Regions from separate parts of the Homo sapiens genome. Here region 1 is linked to region 2. Evidence: promoter capture Hi-C in human tissues and cell types (Jung and others, 2019). All regions are on one chromosome and are shown on one strand. The core of a region is centred on a gene start or on the middle of the fragment in contact, and the rest is flanking DNA. Distances in the headings are between cores, read along the strand shown.

Evidence for each region. The method cuts DNA at HindIII sites, captures the fragments that hold promoters and counts their contacts. A contact is called where the count stands out against the background at its distance.
Region 1: a contact is called between a fragment that was not itself captured here and the fragment with the promoter of PSMB7 in region 2, in 2 of the 25 tissues and cell types used here (IMR-90 fibroblasts and hippocampus).

The regions. Positions count from the first base shown.
Region 1 is chr9:124,517,950-124,523,200 of GRCh38, forward strand. It overlaps NR6A1 (nuclear receptor subfamily 6 group A member 1), which reads right to left. Exons shown (of 10, transcript NM_033334.4): 10 at 1-4,844. The coding sequence ends at 4,756. Among named protein-coding and RNA genes, the nearest start is that of NR5A1, 13 kb to the left of the region's middle. The HindIII fragment of the contact is 3,650 bases long and covers 82-3,731 here.
Region 2 is chr9:124,412,145-124,418,050 of GRCh38, forward strand. PSMB7 (proteasome 20S subunit beta 7) reads right to left here and starts at 3,298. Exons shown (of 8, transcript NM_002799.4): 1 at 3,220-3,298; 2 at 2,698-2,791; 3 at 1,764-1,861; 4 at 208-348. The coding sequence starts at 3,281. RefSeq lists enhancers at 1-696, 3,205-3,254. The HindIII fragment of the contact is 5,075 bases long and covers 2,033-5,906 here.

The DNA.
Region 1 (5,251 bases), core at 657-3,156, 100 kb after region 2:
AGGTAGTTTTTTTTTTCTTTTTCATGGAAATTTGAATCAACAACATTATCACCTATTACAAGACATTTTAGAGAAAGAAAACAATGGTCATTAAAGGGCAAAGACGGCAGGGCTAGATCTGGGGGACTAGCCTCCACCCATAACACAACTTTTGTTCTTGGGCTTGGAGCAGGCTCTGACCTTACTCACCGCCTCCCTTTGAGCCTACAGTTGATTCCTGTGCAGGCTGTGGTCCATTTAGGGCTTCAGGCCCAGAAGACGGATGCTAGATGGGAACTGGGCTAGACAGAGGGACCAGGCTTCTATGAGCGGGGAGAGGCAGGGCCACCGTGGCTCGTGTCGTAGGACAGCTAGAAGCCTTCAAGTCTCATGGTGGCCCAGGTCTGGCCAAAGCAGAAGCCCCAGCTTGCTCCAGACTTGGCAGGCTCTCTGGAGTTCCCGCCTTGGAGGAAACAGTTCAGGTATGGCTCCCAAGCCCAGAAAAAATGTTGCTGTGGCAGCCTAGAGAGGAGTTTCTGGGGATCCTGTAATTAAATACACATCCCTGAGCTGTGGCCCCAGAAACCCTTGTCTCCAGGCTAACCAGTTTCCAACACTTGGTGGAATGACTGCCGTTTCTCATCCTGACACACAGATAAAACATCATTTCACAGATACTGGACATAGATGCTTCAAGCCAAGGAGAAAGGGAGGATGATCAGTTGCAAAGGCAGAGGGGAGTGCAAGGGAACTCTCATGGGCTGGGGTAGGGGGAGGCAGGGGAGTAAGAGTAGCGGATTTTTTTGTTAAATTTTGTTTGTTTTTTGGGTTTTTTTTTTTTTTACTTTAAAAAAATCAATTAAAAATTCAAAGCTTAATAAAAGGGCTGGTCTGAAAGACTGGATTCTTAAAATAATTGCAAAAATTTCAAAAGCAACAAGGAAAAAAGATACACACCAGGGGCCCAGAGAGGAGGGCCTGGAACCACAGCTCAGCTTTCTGTCCTGCTGAGAGGCCAGGGTTCCCTTAATTCGACCAACCTTGGACATGGCTTAGATGCTGCCCACAGTGGGTTTGTCTGTCTCCATCAGTCCCATTCCCCCAGGAAATCAAGAACAAACAAACAAATGTAGGAAATGGGTAACAGAGCAATGCACCTAGCTCAGAGCCCAGGATTTTAAGGATCTGGTAACAGTGACCATGGCAGGTACTCACCTCCCTGAAAAAGGGTGGCAGGTGAGAGGCAGGTTGATGTGGAGTGGGTGACATTCAGTGATGCCACAGAAACCCTTAGGATTCCCCATTCCTTGCTCTGGTTCTGGGAAACAGGACAGGGAGGATCCTGCTTACTTCCTCCTATCCCTGGGGGCTTGCCCACCTCTCTTGTGAGTGGGGCATAGGGGCTGGGTGTCCTCTGAGCCAGGTTGAGCGCTTTGAGACAGATTCTGGGGAATTTCTCCAGATTAACGACGAGACCACCAAACCTTGCAAAGGACTCCAAAAGTCTACAAAGGCAGCCAGAGAGCATGAATAAGTTCCAAGATGCCAAACTTTTGTCTTGGGACAAGAAAACATCAAAAAGGAGAGGGAGGGAAAGGCTTGCATGTTTCAATGTAGTGCAAGGAGGTGGGATTCTCCTTTTCCATGTAGCTTTCAGAGTCGTATTTTTATGGCATAAAAATTCTCACTCGGCTGGGTGCAGTGGCTCACGCCTGTAATCCCAGCACTTTGGGAGGCCGAGGCAGGCGGATCACGAGGTCAGGAGATGGAGACCATCCTGGCTAACGTGGTGAAACAATGTTTCTACTAAAAATACAAAAAAAGTTAGCCGGGTGTGGTGGCGGGCGCCTGTAGTCCCAGCTACTCAGGAGGCTGAGGCAGGAGAATGGCATGAACCCGGGAGGCGGAGCTTGCAGTGAGCCAAGATCGCACCACTGCACTCCAGCCTGAGCGACAGAGCGAGACTCCGCCTCAAAAAAAAAAAAAAAAAAAAAAAAAAAAATCCTCACTCAAAGTGAGTGCTTTTGGTGGTTGGGGATCAGAGAGAGGGCAGAAAGAGAAATTAGAGAAAACATGCACAACTTTTCTCTCCTTCCACTCGCAAAAAGGCTACCTGTTAACCAAACATTATGGGGAAGAAAGCAAAAAACAAACACACCAAACCTCCCCTCCAACCTTTCTCCGTGTCCTTCAAACCAAATTCACAAATACATCTAGTGGCTGACCTAATGTCTCCACGCTGCTAGCTACACTCCTACCTTCTCCTCATAATACCTGAGTTTGCAATGCAACACATTCACTTTACCCTGTTTAAAAAAAGCCCACGTCATAAAAGGACTGGTGCAGAAGACATTAAAGACGGTCCACAGGTCAGGCTCCGGCTCGGAACACACAGCCACTTTGCTCTGAGATTCTGCAGGGCTCTCGGCAATGAATGGGCTCTTTGTTCTGTGGAATCTGCTGCAAACATTTGTAAAACTGGATTTGTACAATGGCAACTTGCAGAACCTTTCCCCTACTCCACAAATTAACAACTTGCTCTGTTCAATACTACGTTGTTGGAGAGACATGTTCTTGCCTCATCAGAGAGCAATTTCTTTTGACACCCAACACAACGGGTAAAATGTTTAATTTGAAAAGCAATTTCAAAAATAATAATTGGACAGATAGAGGCCTCAGCAAAGAACGATGCTGTACACAGGAGCTGTCTTAGAGAAGGCATCTGTGATATGTGTCTCCTTCCCGATCTGGAGGAAAGCAGCTCAGAGTCTGACCTGTGGCCAAAGAATGTGATCTAGTTGGTTAAATAAAATTCAGGGGAACAAGTATCGTGAACTTAGAAATAAACAGATACACACGAACACACAAGAATCTTCCCACTGACGTGAAAAACATGCTAGCTGGAGCTTTTCCTGAGGAACATGTCTCTTCCTTCTCAGAGCAACTGGGGAAACGGCATTGAGGAGTAATGTTCCGAGTTTTAGATCCATCAAGGGCCAAAATCATCACTCTGCTGGTACCCGTAACATTTCACCAGAAAGAAACAATTACAATCAGACATGGACTACCCAGTATGCACACGACGTGGTGCCCTCCTGGGTAGCTTTACTAGGTTGAGTTGAGGAGACAGCAAACAGCCTTTGACTAAATAGGCAGAAGAAGGTGCCGTGGGCCCTTCCAACCTACCCAGGCATGCAGCCAACTAAGTGGTCTGCTTGCCACACTGGCTGTGAAAGATACCTGGGTGTAGGCAGGACAAGCACCTGAAAGAGTTCAAAGACAGACCTGGTGTAGCGCTGGCCAAAGTCAAGAGGGTAAGGAACACGTCCTGGGATAAGGTGGGGCAGGTAGTGAGAGGTCAAGGAGTCCAGGCCATGTCTGCAGAGGTAGCAGCCGGGCCATTAGGAACCTGAGGTAGTTTAAAGCCCCCCTTCCCTTCCAGGTGCTTCTGGCTCCAGCCCTCCAGGCCTTGGCTGGCCAGTCCACTGCTGAAGTAAGGGGCAGCTGAGCCACTCTGGGCCTTGGGCTTTGTGTCCTGGGTCCCTGAGGAAAACTGGTCTCACTCTGGAGAGAAAAGGAGAACTTGGAGAAGAACTTAGGGGCAACATTTCTGGTCAGCAGACAGGTGAATGGTCCTTCTCATTGTTTAAAAAAGCCTGAAGTTTTCGGATTTAGACCTGAGGGTGCGGTAGGAAGGGGAGGGGAGAGGAACAGATTTCAAAAGGGGAGTGTCTATTCTTTTTGCAGTCTGGCCTTGCCCTACTACCCTTTGAAGAAAACAAGGTGAAAGGAGAATAAATCAGTAGTGGGCACCAGGCTTCAGAACATGGCATTCTGCTCAGCTGGTTTTTCAAAGGGCCAATAGGAAGTCAAATGTGTAAGGGAGTGGGAAGGAGGAAGGTGGGCCTCAGGAGATCCAGGTAAGGAAACTAGGTAGCTGGGGGCCCCGAGGGAGCTGGGAGGCGAGTCCTGTGGATCAAGTGATTGCCAGGACTTTGCCTAGATGGAAAGTTCGCAGTGGTAGACAATGATGGTGGTGCAGGGGTAAGGGGGGCAGCAAGGTGTGAGAACAGAAATTCTTCTGCCCTTAGGACTTGTTGGGTGGAAGGACACCTGCCTTAAATATGGTCACTGTGCCCTACTCTCTTAATTTTCACGCTTTCCAAGGAAAGGACGTGGCTCAATCCTCACCTCCTACCCTGTTGCCGTCTCACCAACCTTGCTTAGTGAATCTCCTAACAACACTTTGCCCCCTTACAGTGTGCCGTTTTATCTGGCAATTCTGTGGCTAAAAAAGGCAATTTGCTCTCTGACAGACAAATGTATGAGTCTGCTGAGAAAATGTGGAAAAAGTAGGGATGGCCACACCCCCCATTTCCATTGAGGTAGTCATCTTTGTCAACATTATGGAAATAGTCATCTTAGCCCCATCCCACCCTCTCCCTCAAAATACAAAAGAACTATTTCTAAACAATGACAACACTGTAACATTAAACATCTTCACATTCTGTAAACTGTAAGAAAATGCATTGGCTGCATTCACACAAAAGCATGTGCATCATGTTGAAGGCCATACATTCAACTCTGTCGTGAAATAAATATATAGAAAAATGAGGTTAAAAAAACAGACAAACAAACAAAAACTCTTCTTGCTATGGAGGCAACGGGAAATGCTGCTCCACAGCCTCCATCTTGGTCTCTCTGGCTTTTCCCTCCAGAGCCTGTCCTGCCCACCCAAGACGCTGTGGTTGGCCTGAGGAGGGCGCCTGGAACAGGTCATTCCTTGCCCACACTGGTCTTGCAGGAATGCAGCACCACCTTAAAGAGGAGGGGCAGCTGCTCCAGGGGCACATTCACCATCTTTCCTGGGAACAAGGGGGGAGAAGAAGAGTTAGCAGTGGTCACTCTAGTGGACAGGCAAGTCAGCCTCCTTGGGCTGGTGGAGGCAGAGTATCACCTTGCTGAGTGACTGGGGCAAGAGAAGTGCCAGGAGTATCACAAAGGTTGGACACACTGGGCTAACATCCTAACATCCAGACCCCTTTGGGTGCCCAGGGAGCCTAGTAATGGTGCCAACTCATCATCATTCTACTACTCAGGGAATACTTAACTCTGTTCTAGGTGGTTAAATGCATTACCTCGTTGAATTCTCACACTATTTCTGTGTACTACTTTTTACCCTCATTTTATAGATAAGGAAGCTGAAACTGACAGGTAGTCCAAAAAACTTCTGTCCTGTTTTCTTCACCCCCTCAACCCCCGGTAGATTTTC
Region 2 (5,906 bases), core at 2,048-4,547:
ATTTACTCATGAAAAAAATCAGGCCCCAGAAATTCAAATGCACCATCAAAAACCATTTAAAATGGCTCTTTAATATAACAACTGATTTCCGGAACAAAATGTGTATTTCTGAATGTGTTTTTGCTACTTTCCAGGCTTCTCTTGGCTGAAAAAAATCTAAGATATGAGAAGAAGATACTAGTAGGAATCCCCATTCTGGAAACTTACCTGAAAAGCATCTGCTTCAGCATCCGATTGGCTGTCACAACTCTGGGAAGACGGCCAGTGGAGAGGGAGTGGAGCTCCAGGTTGGAAGAAATGAGCTGGGTTGTCATGTCTGTGTCTGCAGCTGTCCCAGCACCACAACAACTGAAAAATCCAATTAGAAACTTAGCTGAAATCCAATTACCAGAGGGCTCAATTAGAAGTAATGGGTTCTTGGATAACTTCCATGAAGTTCAGGTACAGAGAGATGTTTTTGAGTATATCTATGCTGTAACTTCTCTGTTTAGTCAACCTTAAATAAACAGAAAATTGAGAATATGCATCTAGTTATATGCAAATACATTATCTATGGCCCAATGGAACACATGAAATTATTGGTTTCTGTGATAACAGTGTGTGCATTCCATTAATGCTACAAATATATCCAAGTTGTACAGAAGTGCCAGGTGTGTTAACTCTTGCAATTCAACATCTACCAAGTATTTACTATCAGATACCAGTAATTACACTAAGCACTGGGAATAAAGAAAATATGAGAGGCCTTGTGCTCAAAGTTGAGTGTAAGATACACAAGAAGACAAAAATTATAACACATAATTTAATACACAGTAATAGCATAGGTACAAAATCCTACGGGAAACCGGAGGAGAAGGTAATTGATTCTGATCATTAAGAAAAGGTTTCAGGCTGGGCATGATGGCTCATGCCTGTAATCCCAGCACTATGTGAGACCCAGGCGGGAGGATCACTTGAGGCCAGAAGATCAAGATCAGCCAGGGCAACATAGTGTGACCGCATCTCTCCCAAAAAAAAAAAAAAAAAAAAAAGAACGAAAAAAATGTTTAAAAAAAGGAAAAGGTTATATATGAGCTGGAATAAAAACACTCTACAAGCAGAGAAGGCAGAGTTTCTAAATAGAATCTCACATAAGCAACGGTAGAATAGCTTGGAGATGAGGGAAATAGGGACAGTTCAGACGTAACTGGAGCACAGGGTGATGGCAACTGAAAAAGACGCTTGAAGGGTAGGCTTTCTATGAGACTGTGCAAGGCCACAGAATTTTGATTTTTATCCTAAAAGCCATGTGGAAATGTGACAAGTCTCTTGAAAAGCTTTTTAAGAAAGGGATGCCATCAGATCTATGTTTTACAAAATCCAGTATGGCAGAAGAGTGAACAATAGGATGCCTAAGAGAGGCCAATTAAATGGTAACTGCAATAGTCCAGCTAAGAAAAAAGAACCTCTATGGTTCAAGTTAATGTTTGAAAAAAAGAAAAAGAAAAAAGAACCCAAACTAGAGCCTTAGCAAAGGAAAGGATAGGAGGGAATGGATTCAAGAGGCACAGAGAGGGCAAAACTGGCCACCAATTCAATTGGAGACTGAAGCAAAGAGAGGACTTGAAGTTACTGGCTTAGGTAACAGGTGGCTGGAAATGCCATTTAAGGGAGACAGAAAATACAGGTTGAAAAACAGGTTTTAGTAAGGAGCACAGGAAGGTCAATTTTTAGCCCTGACATGTTTGAAAATATAAGAGTTATTCAAACGAATCAATACTTACTAAATATTAGGAGATATGAAGTGTATTTTTGAACAGTTCTTGTCAGCAACAACCATCCCTTCAGTTGCTCTTGTATCTGCTCCAAGAACTATGCCATCCTATTAAAAAAAAAAGTTTTTAAACAATTTTACAAATATAAGCCAACCGCAACTCTCTATTCTACTTTAGGGAATACTATGTTGGCCATACCACATGCTCCCCTAATCTCAAAACGCCAGCCAAAACTCATAGCAAAAATATTGTGCTACACTTTCAGGATTTAAGAAAAGGTTTCTTAGTAAATGCTACTAATTGAATCCTGAGTAGGTAAGAATTATTCCCATTTTCAAGTGAGGCTCAGGTGTCGGGTAAATTCCTTGTAAATCAGAGCTAATCTGGAAAAAACCTGGATTAAGACTCAGGAATCTTTCCATTAAATTAGCCATCACTATCAATTTCCTTTTAAAACATGTTGCTTTTCTTTAAAACATGTTGCACAGGTAATCATTATCCCTTTTGACGTTTCCAACAATTTAAGGCAGGAGTTATCTCCATTTGATGCATCTGAAGGTGTCCCTGTGAGAAGGAAAGTGAGCTGCCAGAAGTTGGAATCAGCACTATAGAGTTCAAAGGTGAGACAGACCTGTCTGACCCCAAATCTCGTGATCTCCCATCACATACTTCAGCTTCCTAAACTAGTAATTAAGAAGCTAACTGACCTGTTTAAAAAAAAAAAAAAGAAAGAAAGAAAAAACCTCAGCAAAGTGAGGAAAGAACATAAACTGTTAAGAAGCACACAAAACCTGACAAAAGCAGTCGCTCCTGAAAGACGGTCTCCTGATGTATTCTATAGCATTTGCCTTTCCAGACCGAGCCGGGAGAGACACCGGAAGCCAAGTGTTCTGATTCCTGTTGCCGGTTCAGTCACTGCTGCTCTTAGCCTAACCCGGCTTACCTTATAGACCACCCCAGCGATGGTCGTGCCAGTTTTCCGGACCTTTGGAAGCTTGTATCCCCTCTTTGCAAAATCGGCTTCCAAGACGGCATTCCTAAGAGCAAATGAGAGAATCAAGTGTTGAAGGGCAGGACCACATCGCACAGCACTGGCATGAAAAGTGCCTAACAGAGAACTCAGGAAAGCTGCTACTTGTTTTCACGCCCATCTGTTTAATGAATCCTCCCACCATCAGCACTGTTCTCCCGTTTTCCAACGAAGACAGTCTTACAAAGGGGCCGTGACGTGCCTTAGGAGACGGAGATAAACGGTGGCCGAGTGCGCTGGGAAGGTGGGAGAGCAGACCCGGCTTCAGGAGAAACCCACGCCCAGGCCCTGATTCCCCTGAGTCACACTAGCCGCGGGCCACAGGCCCCGCCATGAATTCTTCCCTCAGAATTCTCGTATCACACCTTGGCCCAGCTCCCACCCGAGCACCGCACTCTTCTCCCTCCCTGAACCAAGCCCCAAGCAAGGCGGCACCTGCGGCAGTTATCAAAAGAGAAGCCTCCAACTGGTGGAGCATACACCGACACAGCCGCCATCTTCCCAAGAAAGCAGTTCCGGGTCGGAGGCGGGTGCAAACAAAAAGAGCCGAGCACTTCCGGCGTCGCTGGCAACGGGGGCTGAAGGGGCGGGGCAAACGCCGCACTAGAACGATTGATCTTAGAGATTCTGGTTCCTAGAGAGGCCAGAGATGTTTGAAGTATATCGCCCCAAGTGGCACGGAGGAGAAAGTGACACCCGGAACCGGGAAAGGACTTGTCCAAGGTGAACGCACCAGCGACCAGGTCTCCTGCCGCTCAGACTGGACTTGTTTCTACCGTTAATTTGGTTCTGCGGTGCTTCAGAGACAGACAGACCCAAGTCCCAGGCACAGCCCCACCACCCCCTTGCGTTAAGCAAGTCTCTTCAACTCTCTGAATCTGTTTCCTCCGCTATCAGATGGAGATTACAACCTAGCTCAAAAGGCTGCTGTAGAATGGCCATTAAGTCTGTGAAAAGAGGCTCAACATGATTAGTCATAGGGTGAATGCAAAGCACGACCACAGTGAGATCCCACTTCGCACCCGCTAGGATGGCCATAAACAAAAAGACAGAAAAGCGCAAGGGTTGCGAGAGTGTGGAGAAATTGGAACCCGAATACACGGCTGGTGAGAATGCAAAACGGTGCGGCTGCTCCGGAAAACAATTTGGCAGTTCCCCAAAAAGTATTATCCTCTTAGATACGCACCCGAGAGGGTTGAAGACATGTATTCACAAAAACTTCTACAAAGGTGAGGTAGAAGGCAGGCCTCCATTCAGAGATGGGGCTGAGATACCTGACCAAATTGAGGACTAGCTAAAACAGGGCCTGGACGGAAGCTGTCTTCCCTAAGACTCGCTCACCAGCCAGCCAAGTCAGTTTACCGTTGCCATGGCAACACTCGTGAGTTACCGCCCCTTTCCATGGCAGTGGCACCATAAACCAAAAGTTACTACCCCTTCCCTAGAAATGCCTGCATAAACCACCCCTTAATCTGCATGTAATTAAAAGTGTGTATAAATATGACAGCAAAACTGCCCTGACACTCTGCCTAAGAGGGTAACCCTGCTCTGCAGGAGCAGTCATGGAGCTGTAACGCCGCCACTTCAATAAAGCCGTTTTCTTCTGCCTCTAACTTGCCCTTGAATTCTTTCTTGGGCAAAGCCAAGAACCCTTGTGGGCTCAGCCGCACTTTGGGGCTTACCTGCCCTGCGTCAAAAGGGGTCTCATTGGCTGGGCGCGGTGTCTCACGCCTGTAATCCCAGCACTTTGGGAGGCCGAGGTGGGCGGATCATGAGGTCAGGAGATTGAGACCATCCTGGCTAACACGGTGAAACTCCGTCTTTACTAAAAATACAAAAACTTAGCCAGACGTGGTGGTGGGCACCTGTAGTCCCAGCTAGTCAGGAGGCCGAGGCAGGAGAATAGCTCGAACCAGGGAGGCAGAAGTTGCAGTGAGCTGAGATCACGCCACTGCACTCCAGCCTGGGCAACAGAGCAGAGACTCCGTCTCAAAAAAAAAAGCGAGGGGGGGGTCTCATTATTCACAATAGCCAAATAATGGAAACAAATGTCCATCCACTGATGAATGGATAAACAAAATATGGTAAATTCATTTAATGGAATATTATTAGACCATAAAGAAGTCTGAAGCACAGATACATGTTACAACAGGGATGGACCTTAAAAATATACTGAGGGAAAGAAGCCAGGCACAAAAGGCCACATAGTGTATCATTCCATGTATGTGAAGTGTTCTTAATAGGCAAATCCACAGACAGAAAGTAGATGTTTGGTTGCTAAGGGTTAGGGGAGGAGGAGAGAATGGATAGGACTGTTTAGTGGGCGCAGAGTTTTTGGAAAATGATGAAAATATTCTGGAATTACATAGTGGTATTGGTTGCACGATATTATGAATACACTAAAAACCACTGAGTTGCACACTTTAAAATGGTTAAAATGGTGACTTCTACGTTAGGTGAATTTTATTTTATTTTATTTTATTTTATTTATTTATTTATTTTTTTGAGACTCGGTCTCCCTCTATCACCCAGGCTGGAGTGCAGTGGCATGATCTCAGCTCACTGCAACCTCCACCTCCTGGGTTCAAGTGATTCTCATGCCTCAGCCTCCCAAGTAGCTGGGATTACAGGCATATGCCACCACGCCTGACTAATTTTTGTATTTTTAGTAGAGACAGGGTTTCACCATGTTGGCCAGGCTGGTCTCGAACTCCAGACCTCAAGTGATCTGCCCACCTCAGCCTCCCAAAGTGCTGGGATTACAGGCATGAGCCACAATGCCTTGCCAGTGAATTTCATTTTAATAAGGCTATTGTGAGTATTAAACATTGTACATGAAGACCATCTATCTTAGCATGTAGAAGCTTCTTATAAATAGTTATTATTAATAATACATTCATTTCATCCTGTCAACAAACCTAAGAGATAATTATGTAATTCAACTCATTTTACTGAGGGAATTGAAGGCTCCTTTTACAGCCTGAATGACTGTGGAATGAATTAATTTATTCACTCAACAAATATTTATTGAGCTCCCATTATGCGTCAGACATGGTTCTAGGTGCAAATGAATGAATGAAGCACCTAGAACCAGTGTCTATCACAACTGTGTGTTTAATAAA